Regions from separate parts of the Homo sapiens genome. Here all the other regions are linked to region 3. The links are contacts of gene promoters, found by promoter capture Hi-C in blood cells and fetal thymus (Javierre and others, 2016). All regions are on one chromosome and are shown on one strand. Each heading gives the region's core, a stretch centred on a gene start or on the middle of the fragment in contact. The rest is flanking DNA. Distances are from core to core; before and after follow the strand shown.

Region 1 (2,700 bases), core at 32-2,531, 1.7 Mb after region 3:
GTCCTCATATTTACTAAGGCTTCTATTGCACTGACTGGGTGTCTGGCACTGTTTTAAGCACTTTCTATATATCAACCCATTTAATTATCATAACAACTCTATGTGGCAAGTACTATTGTTATCCTTTCCATTTTACAGTTGAGGAAACTGAGGCACGGAAGCAATTTGCTAATGATCATGTATCTGGTGGTAGCAAAGTTGAGATTCAACCTCAAGCTGCCTGGGCACCAAAATCCAGGCTCTTAACCACTATGTTATGCTGCCTCTGGCATTAAGAAATGATAATTAACATTTATGGGAAGAGAAGAGGAAATGGAATACTTTGGCAGTAAGAAAATTAAGAAGGCAACCTTGTCGGTCTCACAGTACAGTTGCCTTCTAGTAGAGCTCTTTTTCTATTGGGGATATTTATCAATTTTGCAGCACTTTTCTGAATCCTGGGTTGCTCCTTAAACCCTGGTCACATCCAGCTTCAATTTACTCCTGCTTGGATGAACCAACTAAAAGGAGACCACAGGAGTCTTTGCTGCTGGTAAGTGTTTTTCTCAGTTCCCTAGAGCTAGAATCTTTGCGCAGGTGCGAAGAGTAGAGCACCTTTCAGTGAGAAATCCAACTAGTATGTAAAATGCTTAGCACTCAGTGAAAGTTAGAAAATAACATTATTATTATTATTTAAAGCATCAATCAAACCATCACTGCCCTCCAGTTCTTCTATTAAGAGACAATACAATAGTATATTCAAGACAGTAGCATCTATGACCAAAACAGAATATTGCAGTAAGAACTTTTAAAAATGCATTCTAAAGAAATATTTATAAAGTACTATACCTACATTTGTTCCAGGCACTGAATCAGGTACAATAATGAAGATGACAGATATAGCTTCTGGCTTCACAAAGCTTACAGTTGGAAAGACAGGTAAATAACCAAGTAGAATACATTATTATATGTGCTGTGATATAGAAAAATAGGATCTTAAGAGGCAAAGATAAGGGGTACCTAATCCAGGTATGGTGGACTAGGAAAGTCTTCCCAGAAGAAGTAACTTCTGGATTGGGAAACTGAACATTTAGCTAACCAAAGCAGATGGAGGCAGAGTTCCAGGCAGAGGGAACATCACTCACAAAAAATGAACATGCAAGTACACAAAAGTATCCAAGAACTAAAAAAGATCTGTTATGGCTAAGGTTATAAATGCAAAGAGGGCAGAATGGCAACAGTAGAGGCTGAGGAGGGAAGCAGAAGCGATTTCACAAAAGGATGTGGTTCATGTTAAAGAGTTTGTATTTGAATACAAGAGCAGTTGTAAGACAATTATGAACTTTAAGCAAAGGAGTGACATGGTCAGTCACTCCTTAGAAATCTCATCATATTTGCAGCAAGGAGGATAGATCCAAAGGGGAAAATACTGGATGCGGGAGGGGGAGAACAATTTAAGCTCATTTGCAATAGTATAGAAAAGCAATAAAGGAATGCTCATGGCCTTTCCATCAGCGGAGATGGAAAGAAGAGGACGGACCTGAGGGAGATGAAGGAGAAGAACCAACAGGACTTGTTGGAGATTGGAGAAAGTGGGGAGAAGAAAGAATCAGGAATGTCACCTATGTTTTATTCCTCCTTGGGCAACTAAGTGACTAACAATGCCATTTAGAGAAGAAGCTTGGGAAACACAAATGGTTAAGTTCAGTGGAGTTTCAGCACAATTGAAAAAATACAAAGATACTCAAATGTAAAATCAGAATAGCCAGAAGGCAAACTTTTCTACCCAAAATGATTCTCATAGTCAACAGGGCCCACTGCACATCTTGGTAAGCTCAGCAGGCTACCACTGCAGCACCTGAATGGTAGCCTAATCTAATGACAAGAATGGAAGTGCAATACTAGACCTTGAATGACTGGAGAGAAAATAAGGGACCTCTTTGAATGCCTGCTTTGTCATCAGAATCAACTTGAACAATGGAGAGAATACACCCAATAGCTATTGATTCAGATGATAAATATGTAAAAGCTAACAATAAAAACATGCCCTTACCTTGCCTCCATAACATATAGCATTTCAATCCTCCAATGCAAATTGTAAAATGAACTTGCTGTCACCTGTGAAAACTTGTCAGAAATACTGAGTGAATTTGATTAGGCCTCTAAAATCTGGAGTCTAGATCTAACGAGCTTACCAAAAACATAAGGATTGAGGAGGGTGTGTTCATAATATCACGGAGATCATAGAGATGGATGAGCAAAACCCAGAATGCAAGATATTCAACATGACAACTTGATTTCATGAAACAAGTAAGTTGTAAAAAAGAGGAGAAAGAAAAAGAAAGAGAGAGAGAAAAAAAGAAAGAGAGAGAAAGAAAGAAAGAAAGAGAAAGAAGGGAAGGGAAGGGAAAAGAGAGAGAGAAAAGGGAATAGAGCAAGAGAAAGAAAGGGAGGAATTAAAAGAGATGTAAGATGGACATTTTACCACTTTGTTGCATATAAGTTATATGCAATATTTTTTAAATGATGAGAGAAAAGAAAATTAGCAAACAAATATAATATAATATGTAGATTTCATTTGCATCTTGATTCAAACCAACTTTTAAAACATTGTGAAGAAATCAGGAAACTTTAAACACTGACTAGATATTTGATAATATTAAAGAATTATTAATTTTGTATGTTATAATGGTATATGGTAGAATACCATATAATGATGTT
Region 2 (2,700 bases), core at 2-2,501, 1.7 Mb after region 3:
AACATTGACCAATCCTTACTCTGGACCCCTTACAGATGTGAAGGGAAGGAAACAGAGCAATCATATAAATCTCCCTTGAGGATGCAGAGCCTCCTACTGAGAGGTGGTTTGGATAAGTCAAAGAGCACCATACGGCAGTGTTGTAATGTTTCCCGCATGGATAACACATTTTCTACTTGACAAGTTATCAGTGTCACCATCTCTGGCCCCATAAGCTCCAGAGCTTGTTCCTCATTTGTTAGATGTCACTTGTCCCAGCATGGTGCTTTATATACAAGGATATCTGAGTGAAAGTCTGCACATTTTTAATGTTCTCTTCTTTCTTCCTAAATATTCCCCCTTGTTGACTAATTCAGTCTCGGTGAACCATCTTCACTGTATGCAAATGACTGTAACACCTAAATGCTTGGCCTTGCTTTCTTCTCAACTTCCATACACCTGCTGGGCATTTTTACAGAGATCTACCAGCACCTTACACTCGAGTCCTAAGCTAAATATCTGTTTTCCACTCTCATCTTTTTCATTTCTCCAAGTTCTCCTTCTGTGTTAAGAGCATCACAGGTTTCTCAGTCCAAGTGAAAATCCATCATCTGATCCCTCCCTTTCCATTGGCACCCAACACTCAATAATTAAGTCTACCCACTTTCTCTACTATACTTCTTTCAGATATCTCTTCTCTTCGCTTCCATTTGTCGTACCTTTGTTCTTTGCCTTTTACCCAAATTTGACTAAGAAATAATTATGGAGCCATGAGCCAGGCACAACACTAAGCTATAAGCTCTATGTGTTGGGGATCCAGAAATGAATAAAGTAGACCAGCTCTTTGCCATCATGGAACTTCCATTATAGGCCAGACACACAGATCATAAACAAATAAACAAATAAATGAGCAAGATCATTTCATATAGTGAAATGAGCTATGAATAAAATAGAATAGGTAATATTTAAAAAATCTTGTTTGGGGCAAGGAGAAGAGGATTGATACTGCAGGCTGAGACTCTGGGGAGGGGAGCCAGCTATGTGAAATGCTGGGAACAGTGTGCTCTAGGCAGGTGGAATGGAAACAGCAAAGGCTCAGCTGTCTGAGGTGAAACTAAGCTCGGCTTGTTCAAGGAACCAAGAAAGCCAGCAAGTTGGATCCCAATGAGCAAGGGTGAGAGTGCAGGTCTGAGAAGTAGGCAGGGACCAAACCACAGATTTCATTCTATGTGTTATGGGAAGTCATTGGGAATTTAAAGTTAGAAGTGACATGTTCTGGTTTGCTTACTTTTTAAAAGGTGACTTTGGCTGATATGGGGATAACAGATTGTCAGGGAAACAAAATTAGTTGTAGGGAGATCAGTGGGGAGAATTTACAGGGATTTAGTGATATATGATGATGTCTCAGACCAGAGTGAAGTAGAATACATGAGGAAAAGCTAGCAAGGATTTTGGGGGTACAGGTGGTGGTATTTCTATATGGACCTGTTAATGTTCTTCCTCCTTTCAAGTTTTTACATCTCAGTTCATTTGACACAAAGCTAACAGTGTCCTCTTTCTAAAGATGCCATTATTTGCCCAGATATCTTAATTGGCTCACCACTGCTCATAGAATAAACTCCAAAGTCCTTGGTGTATATTCAAAGCTCTCTGCTATCTGGCCTCACCTTCTTTAGAGTTCCATACAAATGGGCTGATAAGGAAAGGGAAAAAAATGGTTACAGAGACATTCAAAAGTTCTGAGATAAATCATTTCAAAAATAGTGATATTCATAGAAAGTGGTGCTGGTTTTTGATATGTGAAGGACCAGCATTCACAGCTCTTCAACTGCTCTTAAAATCTGAAAGGTTCTGTCATAAATGAAAAAGCCACAGTGCCTCAACCAGTGGCTTGCTTTAACTTCCAAGGGAAGAAATAGGAAAGCTCTAGGAACTAGAAGAAATCATGTAACCCCTTAGAACACAAATAAATAGATGAATTAATTGATTTTGTTACAATCCTTCGCTTTATTCGTTCCCTGGTCTAAAATCTCCCATTATAATGCAATTAAGTGAAACCTCATGACAAAATGTAATGATTAAGCAAACTATAAAAAGGCAGAACTTGATAGAATGAAATCGTGTATCACATTGAACATATGATTTCCTTTCTCTTCTGCCTTAAGTAAGCATTTCTTAGAAATCAAAAATTCATGTCAAGATCATCAAAGCCGACTTGAGACGTCATCAGGATTAACAATCTAGAGTAACAGAAGGGGGCAGTGTTATCACAGTCTCTTGCATCAACCTGAAACCTTGAAGAAGAGAAACTGAAAGTCACCCTGAGTAACACTGTTCACTTACCCAGCATCCTCAACTGAGTCCCAATTTCAATTACTAATTTCTTTCCACTTGTGAAGTCTTAAGCTCCCAAAGTCAGCAATGAGATGCCCCCTTTGGTCCACCAACTTGACATACCCTGCCAAGCCCTATAAGAAACTGATCCCTTCTCACTGTAGCCTCAAGAAATGCAAGCCTGTCTCTACATTTACCTTCATTATTAATTATTCTGCCTTTTACAGCATGAATGGTGAAAGAAATTCACTTGTATTGACCATATAAGAAAAATACTTTATATTTAACATGTTATCAGAAAAGGCCTAAAGTTTATTTGTACTGCTGAAAAAAAAAAAAATGGAAATACGCAGCTCCATGCAGAAGCACTGCCGCAAACACTCACTG
Region 3 (2,700 bases), core at 25-2,524:
TGGTCTCTTGAGAACGTCAGAATTTTTGCCTGCTTGAAGGAGGGAGAGGAGAGAAAAAAAAATGTGACTGCTCCGAGAGGTATATCCCACCTACATTGAGGCAGTGTCTCATAAGGCAGTTTGCAAGTACTTTGTTCCGGCACCCAAGTTTCAAATGACTCATTCTGATTCAATGCTAGCAGGTATAAGACTCAACTCGTGCTTGCTGTGAGGATCAGAGGGAACATTCAGCACAAGACTGACTGCTTATTGCCTATGTGGACAGGAAAGCAGGGAGATAAACTGGCCTGCTGAAGTGGCCCCCCAACCCCTCTCTACCAGCCAGGGCGGGAAGAGGTCCTTTACCCCCTGCCCGGGGAAAGCTCCTGGACAGTCTCAATTCTTACAACAAAGCCCCCTCCGAACGCAATTTCTGTGAAGCTATCTCCTCCTCCTCCTTCCCCTAAATCTAAATGTATCTATTATCTGCACCACATGCAGATTAGTTTAGGTGGGTAAGTTTATCTGAATCTCATGCAGATGTAGAATTATTTCCTTCACAATATACCTTCCCACATGATTCTAGCAATGTACAAGAAAAATTTCCACTAGAAACCCATTTCCAAAAATTGTTTTGCCTTAACCACAGGTCAGGGTGCTTGGAAGCTTTGTTTCTTTTCTTTTTTCATCTTTTTTTTTTTTTCTCTCCTCATCCCGATTACCTTAGGCTCAGAGACAATGTTCCTCCCACAAGGTAAAGTAGTGCAGCCTGTTTAGTTACTTTGACATTGTTCTCAATTTCAAATGAAGCAGATAGGAATTCTGGATTGTGGTCACGACCTGTAAAAACCGTACTGGGGCAGCATATACAGGTAGGGGTCGTGTGTGTGTGTACTCTGAAAACAGTACTTGTTCCAGAAACAAGTTTCCTTTTGGATGTATGAAAAGAAGCCTCCAGTTTAGAAAAGTCTGGAAGAAGTCAGCTGTCCCTCACAAGTGCCAGGGCTTCGGTAAGCACCGAGCCCAGAGGTTTGGCGAGAAGGCCAGTGGCCCCACTAGCGACTAGTAAGCAGGACAGACACGACCGAGAATGAGCGATGGCGCCTCGCCTTCCTAAGCCTCCTCTCCAAAGATGTCAGCGCGGCAGCGGGCTGGGGAGGCGTGTGGGGGCCACTAACCTTGTGCATGTAACTTCTGCTGAGTTCAGCTCAGCCCCCTCCTCCGCGCAGCAGGGGTGCGCTGCGCCCTCCAACCGGCTTCCTTTCCTCCAAGCGCCGCTGCTGCCAACCGCTTTGAAAACTTTAACCACTCAGTCTTACTCATTTCAAGGGATCGCCTTACCCAGCCCTGTTAACGCTTTCACTGCCAGGGCGCTGCCTACTTACCACGCTTTTGTTGTTGCAGTTGTTAACTTTATGATCTTTCCTTCAGTTTACTGAATTGCTTCTGGGAAAAGATTGTAAGAGGTAAAATATAAGCCAGTCCCTAAGGCCAAGTATTTACAAAGTTCATATTTTCACCTTTCCCGTTTTCTGTAGTATCCAAGGAGTCAGAACCTGCTCCATTATAAACATACCAAAGTGATTGTGTTTATTTTAAATCTTCATAAGGATTTCCTGGGAAGGTCAAAAGTAAAAATGGTCAAGCTATGAAAACAAGGATAAGTCGGACACCTAGAAAATATTGCTCTTTGAAAATCATAGTCAATCTCTGAATTTAGAGATAAGAGGGACTTTAGTGATCTTTTTGCTCAATCTGTTTAAATTAAAAAACTAGTGTCACGTATATACACATACGTGAAAAATCAAAGCACAGAGAAGCTTTTTCAAAAAAGGAAAAGCAGTGGCCTCCAAGCTCTCCTCCTGCCTGTTATCCACTGTAGTCTTTTCATATCCTCAGATTATGCCTATATTTCTATTTTTTGATTTATCGATAATACATTTCATGTAAAATTACAAAGGTATCCGATTAAGTGAATAATAACAATCTTAATGCCAGGGTAGTCCTTATCTGTGTCAACCACTGTTCTAAATACCTTACCTGTGTTAGCCCTTTAACCCCTTAACAACCCAAGGAGACACTAAACTATTCTTTACTTTCATCTTGCAGATGAGGGAACTTGAGACACAGAGAGGATAAATAACTCATCTCGGGAGTCACAGCTAGCAGAAGGCAAGTGGGCTGTGCTCTTAACAATGTCATGGAGTGATATAACTTTAAGAGGCTGGCCAGGCGCAGTGGCTCATGCCTGTAATCCCAACACTTTGGGAGGCCGACGTGGGCAGATCACAAGGTCAGGAGATCAAGACCATCCTGACCAACATGGTGAAACCTCATTTCTACTAAAAATACAAAAATTAGCTGGGCATGGTGGTGCGCACCTGAAGTCCCAGCTACTCAGGAGGCTGAGGCAGGAGAATCGCTTGAACCTGGGAGGCGGAGGCTGGAGTGAGCTGAGATCGTGCCACTGCACTCCAGCCAGGGCGACAAAAAAAAAAAAAAAAAAAAAGAGGTGAAGAGGTGGTTCAAGGGAGCTAAGCCTCCCCTAAGAGGGCAAGAGGTCAAAAGATAATGGACAAAACTGGCTACTCACTTTCTCTTACAGATGAGGCAGCTGTGCCCAGAAAGATCAAGGGATTCTTTGAAGTTGTCCAGTGAGTTAGGGGCAGAATTGGGACTAGAAACTAGGTGTTTGAGGCCAGGCGCGGTGACTCATGCCTG
Region 4 (2,700 bases), core at 43-2,542, 1.7 Mb after region 3:
CAAAGTAACCTCCCTAGGTTTGAACAATCATTATCCACAGTTAATAAGCAAGGAAACTGAGGTACAGAAAGTTAAGGAAGGTGCTCAATGTCACACAGTTCATATACGGTGGGGCATAGGTTCAAACCAGGCCATCTGACACAGATCTCACTCTTGTACCACTTAGCCAATCTTATTCATCTTCTGTAAGGAACCATCATCTTTGGCAAATACTTAGGATCTATCCTTGAGAATGGTGATAGAGTTTTATAAATCATCCAACATTTTTCTGCTGATTTCACCTCATGACCAGAAGATTTAATTTTATAATTACTGCATGCAAGGTATGTGTGTCAAGGAAAAAAATATATATAAACCAGTGAATTAGTTAGCAAAAATCGCAATTACTTTTGCACCAACCGAATAAGAGGCTTTGGCCAAAATTCATGCTTCAGGACCAGATGAACTAAAATATCTGTATCATAGGACAGAAAAAAATAGGTCAGCAAAGAGGTAAAATAAAGGTCTGCTTCAATGAATTTTTTCCCAGAGATGAGCACAGTATCCAACTGCTGGCTATAAAAAAAAAATAGAAATCTTGTGTGATTAGCTGGGTTCATATACTTTGTGCACATTGCCTATTAAGCATGACTCTGAAGCTGTAATTTTAAACACTAGGTGGGCAATTACAACAAACTCATTTGTGTTTTACAGATTTATCTCCAAGAAGGAAGAAAACATAACAAGGTTAGGGAAGGGTATTTGGTCAAAGCCTTGATGTGCTTCTATTTAGACATTTTTTAAATAAGCCCATTAGATTCTCAGGCTTTGAGGTCAATTGTGCAGTTCTTGATGAAACATTACCCAAGTGAATTATTTATAAAGTTGCAGGAAACTGCAAATTCTGGTGAACAAATCTTTTTGATGCTCTCATCTCCTGCAGCGTTGTTTTGGTGCTACCCTCTACTGCCTTCTTCAAATATTCTAGGCTCTCTTTGGCTACAGCTGTCCATTCACCTCAAAAGGCAGCCCAGCTCCTTTCCATACAGGTTGTGGAAAGGAGCTATCCAGTCAAGGTGTCTCTCTCAGTTTTTTATTTCCCCCAGGTGCCAGATTGAGAAAAGTTAGGCAGTGACAAAGGAGAATTGAAGACAATGTACTCATATACATATATGCATGCATGCATACATACTTACATATATTTGTTGTTTTTTAACCATAGCCTAAAAGTATTATTAATGTTGTCATTCATCAAAGGCTGTCCCCAACCTCTCAGAGGCAACACACTGGGAAAATCTGTTTTCGCAATTCCAGAAACACATCTGGATTCAATGTTTTTAAAAGTAATGTTAATATCCTCTGACCACATGAAAGAACCTGATTCTGAATGTAAACTATTGAGTTTTCCATTTTCATACATAATACCCTTTTTGAGGCCATATATAGGAGAAAAAAGCTGAAGCACTGATATTAGATATATCTAGCTTTGAATTCCTAATAGTATCCCTGTACGAACTTGGCACATTACGTAATATTTCTGAGCTTGTTTTCTCAATGAGACAATACAAATAGTAATAACCATAGATTAGAATTGCTGTCAGGACTAGAATTGGCATATTAAATGACAGTTTCAAATACATCTTGATTATCACACATGACATATATTTATGTTCCTAAATAGTAGCTTTTATGATGATGGTTCATTCATTCAACAATATTTAAGAGTGTTCTAAGAACCAAGCACAGTTTTGGGCATAGAAGATACAGCCAACTTCGTGAATTCCTAGTCTTCTTGGAGATTACAGTCTTTAAAATTGTTAGCATTTAGGTTGAATAAAGCCAGAGGCATGGGCAGGAGTTTGTTTCAAGATCCTGGGTTGTTTCCTTAACTTCAGTGTGTTTTCTGACAAAGTATTACAAGGAGATCGTATTATTCCAACAACTCTCATAATATAAAATCAATTGACGGTATAGTCATTCTCCTTATGAATAAAGAAATCCTTAGAGAGGGAGATGAAAATAAAAGTGTCAGTGGAAAAGCAGGATATTATACTGGCATGCAGCAGTTGTTATTTTTGCTGTTTGTTTTCACTGTTTTTAACTATCTTACCTGCTTGTGATTAAGGTAATAATATTAAACCATGCTAATGTCCTTCTGTTTTGGAAAAAAAAATGTAAATACACATTTCTGACACCTGTAAAGTTCTCATAAGTAGATAATTTTCTCCTTACAACTGTTGGATTGATAAGGTAATGGAACAATTTCCTTTTACGGAAAATTAGAACACAACTCAATTTGCTATAGTTTTATTCTTCTATAGTAGAGAGTTAAGATTGCTAACAGCTAGGAAGTATATGTCTCTGGCAAGAGTTTAAATGCCAAATTTCCCAAGGAAGATTTACTCATTTCTGTTGCACTTATCTCATTATAACTGATTGAAATTGTATGGAGTTTTTTTAGTAAACATGTGCCTTAAATTATGTGATTAGTGCTAAATATTACATGTATATGAGTTTTGACTAAATTAAACTTTTAAGTACACAAGGAAAAGTTTGAGACTTAAAGTCATCCTATTGTTAATCGTTTCTGTTTGTTTGTTTGAGACAGGGTCTCACTGTATCACCCAGGCTGGAGTGCAGTGGCACCATCACAGCTCACTGCTTCTTGACCTCCTAGGCTCAAGCAATCCTCCCATCTCAGCCTCCTGAATGGCTGGAATC
Region 5 (2,700 bases), core at 63-2,562, 1.7 Mb after region 3:
GAAGCTCAATAAATATTTATGACATAAATGAAGAATCTGAAATCACATGCCTCCTCCTAACGTCAGAGTCACTGAGCATGGAAAATAGCCCAGGACCTGCTCATCAGGTGTTGCTTGCAGGGAAGAACAGTGGACAGACAAGATGGTGGGAAAATTAGAGAAGTAGGAGGAAGTCCTGAGAGAGAAGACACCGTTGGACACCCATTGAAAACAATGACTTAGAGGGAAAATTAAGAAATAGTCTACAACATCTTCTAGGCTTTAAGTGTGTTCATAATCAGCAGTATTGGTTGGTTTACTTTTCTGGTAATGTATTACATAAAAATTACCCTGTAAAGTAGGTAATAATAATAATCATGATCATGGTATTAATTACTATAATTTATTGAAAACTGTTCCAGTTGCTACCAACACTTACCTACCCCACAACCAGCTTCAAACAACTATTTTATCATATTCACAGATTTTATGGGCCAGAAATTCAGACAGCACAGTGGGAATAGTTTATCTGTGCTCCCATGTTTGGAGCCACAGCTGGAAAGACTTGATTGCTGGGAACTAAAATCATCTATAGGTCTCTCCCCTCACACAACTGGCAGCTAATGCAGGCTGGTGGCTGGGATCTCAACAGAAGCTGTTGACAGAGCCTCCCAGTAGTCTCTCTGTGTGCCTGAGTTGCCTCAGGGTGATCAGATTTCTTACATGACAGCTCAGGGCCCCCAGAGGAAGTGTTTCAGTAAACAAAGCAGAAGCTTCAATGTCTTTCATTACCCAGTCTTGGAAGTCATAGTCATCATTTCCATCATACTCTGTGGTCAAAGCAGTCACAAGTCACAGAGAAGAAATAATCCCTATCTTTGAATATTAGGGTAGCTGGTCATGTAAAAGAGTGTATGGGATGGGAGCTATTGCAACCACCATCATTGAAAAACATAATCCCACAGAAACTAGAATAAGTGCTTTACCTAATAAACTAAGTTAATTCTCACAATACCCCTGAGAAATGCCATTATCTTGAATTTACAGTAAAAGGAACATGAACTGCAAAAGGCTAAATGATTTGCTCAAGATCACACTGTTGACAGGTGTTGCTGAGAGCCAAACCAATGTATAACTGACTCCAAAGTTCATGCTCTCCCTGATACATCTTCTCCATGGCTAGAGGAGGCAAGAAAGAACATGATGTGGGAGTTGGAGGAATGACACAGAAATCAGAGGGCCTGAAAAGGGGAGACGATGATGACAAGGACGATGACAATGATGAAGAAGAAGGAGGAGGAGGAGAAGGAGATCAATAAAGGCTTGATTTTAATGATTATGGTACCTTGTCAATGTTGGCACCTTGTCAATGATGGTACCTTGTCAATGTTAAATTATCATTTGGTGATTTGTTGTGTTTTACTTGAGGTGATATGGAGATAGGGTACACAATACCCTATATCCAGTTTCTCCTAAGTTAACACACAACAAGTATTTAAAACTTTAATTTAAAAATTACATGCCATAAAAGTTCTATATTAATTATTTTATTCTATTAGATTTTAAACAGAATGAAACAAGATATTCTATTGTTTGGATATTCCCAATATTTTGTCCCCTAAATAAATGTTTATCAGATGTAACTCAAAGCCAGATTTCCCTTATTTGTATCCTAATGGCTTCTGCAAAATAGCCACCATTTATTGAGCAAATGGACATAGCCTGATAATTTTTTAATGTTACCTGGAATTATATTCAGTGCTTTTTTGATAATGCACTCCCAAACAAAAACTTACAAGCCCCACTCTGGATTGAAGAGTTCACATTAAATTACTCTTCCCTATAAACATAATGATAGAAAAGTGGAGACTCAGCTGACTAATATGAAGCTTGATGAAGACCAACTCTCTGCCCAAACATCAGCTGATCTCTGTGATGCAGCATCCTTACTCATAACATCATTGCCCTGTACACCTCAAGAGTGCTCACTGACTGTCCTTAGGATAAAGACCACAATTCTTACCATAGCCCAAAAAGCCCTGTAGTGTCTGAATCTCAATGCCATCTTGTGTCCCCATGTTAGTCCATTCTTACATTGCTATAAAGAGATAGCTGAGACTGGGTAATTTATAAAGAAAAAAGGTTTAATTGGCCCATGGTTCTGCAGGCTTCATAGGAAGCATGGCAGCATTTGCTTCTGGGGAGGCCTCAGGGAATTTACAGTCATGGCAGAAGGTGAAGGGGGAGCCAGCACTTCACGTGGCCAAAGCAGGATGAAGAGAGAGGAGGGGGAAGTACTACACACTTTTAAACAACCAGATGTCATGAGAACTCACTATTGCAACAACCGCTCCAAGGGGGATGATGTTAAACCATGAGAAACAGCCTCCATGATCCAATCACCTCCCACCAGACCTGACCTCCAAGATTGGGGATTACAGTTGAACATGAGATTTGGATGGGGACACAGATCCAAACCACATCAGCCCCACTTCCTCTTTGTCCTCTGCTTTCCTCCCATTCTGGACCCTTTTGAGTTCTTCAGACATGTCATTCTTCTTCCTCCCTCAAGACTTTTGCAGATTTTAGTCCTTTTGCCTGGAATACTCTTATTTCCTCCATGTGTCTTGTTAACTCCTATACTTAAAGTCGCACCGCAACCATAACTTCCTTGCGGATGTTTTCCTTGACTTCTCTGATGAGGTTAAACCCTCTATTCCC

The links. Contacts are between HindIII fragments. The CHiCAGO score rates a contact against its expected background, and 5 or more counts as called.
Region 1: a fragment that was not itself captured here is called in contact with the fragment with the promoter of SH3RF2 in region 3 in 3 of 17 cell types (M1 macrophages, naive B cells and M2 macrophages); the score reaches 9.5 in M1 macrophages.
Region 2: a fragment that was not itself captured here is called in contact with the fragment with the promoter of SH3RF2 in region 3 in 2 of 17 cell types (M0 macrophages and M1 macrophages); the score reaches 15.9 in M0 macrophages.
Region 4: a contact is called between a fragment that was not itself captured here and the fragment with the promoter of SH3RF2 in region 3, in 2 of 17 cell types (naive B cells and total B cells). The highest score is 5.9, in naive B cells.
Region 5: a contact is called between a fragment that was not itself captured here and the fragment with the promoter of SH3RF2 in region 3, in 1 of 17 cell types (total B cells). The highest score is 5.7, in total B cells.

Annotation. Positions count from the first base shown.
Region 1 is chr5:144,213,045-144,215,744 of GRCh38, reverse strand. All of the region lies in intron 3 of KCTD16 (potassium channel tetramerization domain containing 16), which reads right to left. Among named protein-coding and RNA genes, the nearest start is that of KCTD16, 44 kb to the right of the region's middle. The HindIII fragment of the contact is 760 bases long and covers 902-1,661 here.
Region 2 is chr5:144,191,776-144,194,475 of GRCh38, reverse strand. All of the region lies in intron 2 of KCTD16 (potassium channel tetramerization domain containing 16), which reads right to left. Among named protein-coding and RNA genes, the nearest start is that of KCTD16, 22 kb to the right of the region's middle. The HindIII fragment of the contact is 5,543 bases long and covers 1-2,700 here.
Region 3 is chr5:145,935,152-145,937,851 of GRCh38, reverse strand. It overlaps SH3RF2 (SH3 domain containing ring finger 2), which reads right to left and starts at 1,274. Exons shown (of 10, transcript NM_152550.4): 1 at 1,158-1,274; 2 at 1-29. It overlaps LOC107986458 (a long non-coding RNA gene), which reads left to right. Exons shown (of 4, transcript XR_001742913.2): 4 at 2,089-2,151. RefSeq lists an enhancer at 959-1,536. The HindIII fragment of the contact is 1,154 bases long and covers 648-1,801 here.
Region 4 is chr5:144,264,652-144,267,351 of GRCh38, reverse strand. All of the region lies in intron 3 of KCTD16 (potassium channel tetramerization domain containing 16), which reads right to left. Among named protein-coding and RNA genes, the nearest start is that of KCTD16, 95 kb to the right of the region's middle. The HindIII fragment of the contact is 4,011 bases long and covers 1-2,700 here.
Region 5 is chr5:144,245,321-144,248,020 of GRCh38, reverse strand. All of the region lies in intron 3 of KCTD16 (potassium channel tetramerization domain containing 16), which reads right to left. Among named protein-coding and RNA genes, the nearest start is that of KCTD16, 76 kb to the right of the region's middle. The HindIII fragment of the contact is 1,116 bases long and covers 755-1,870 here.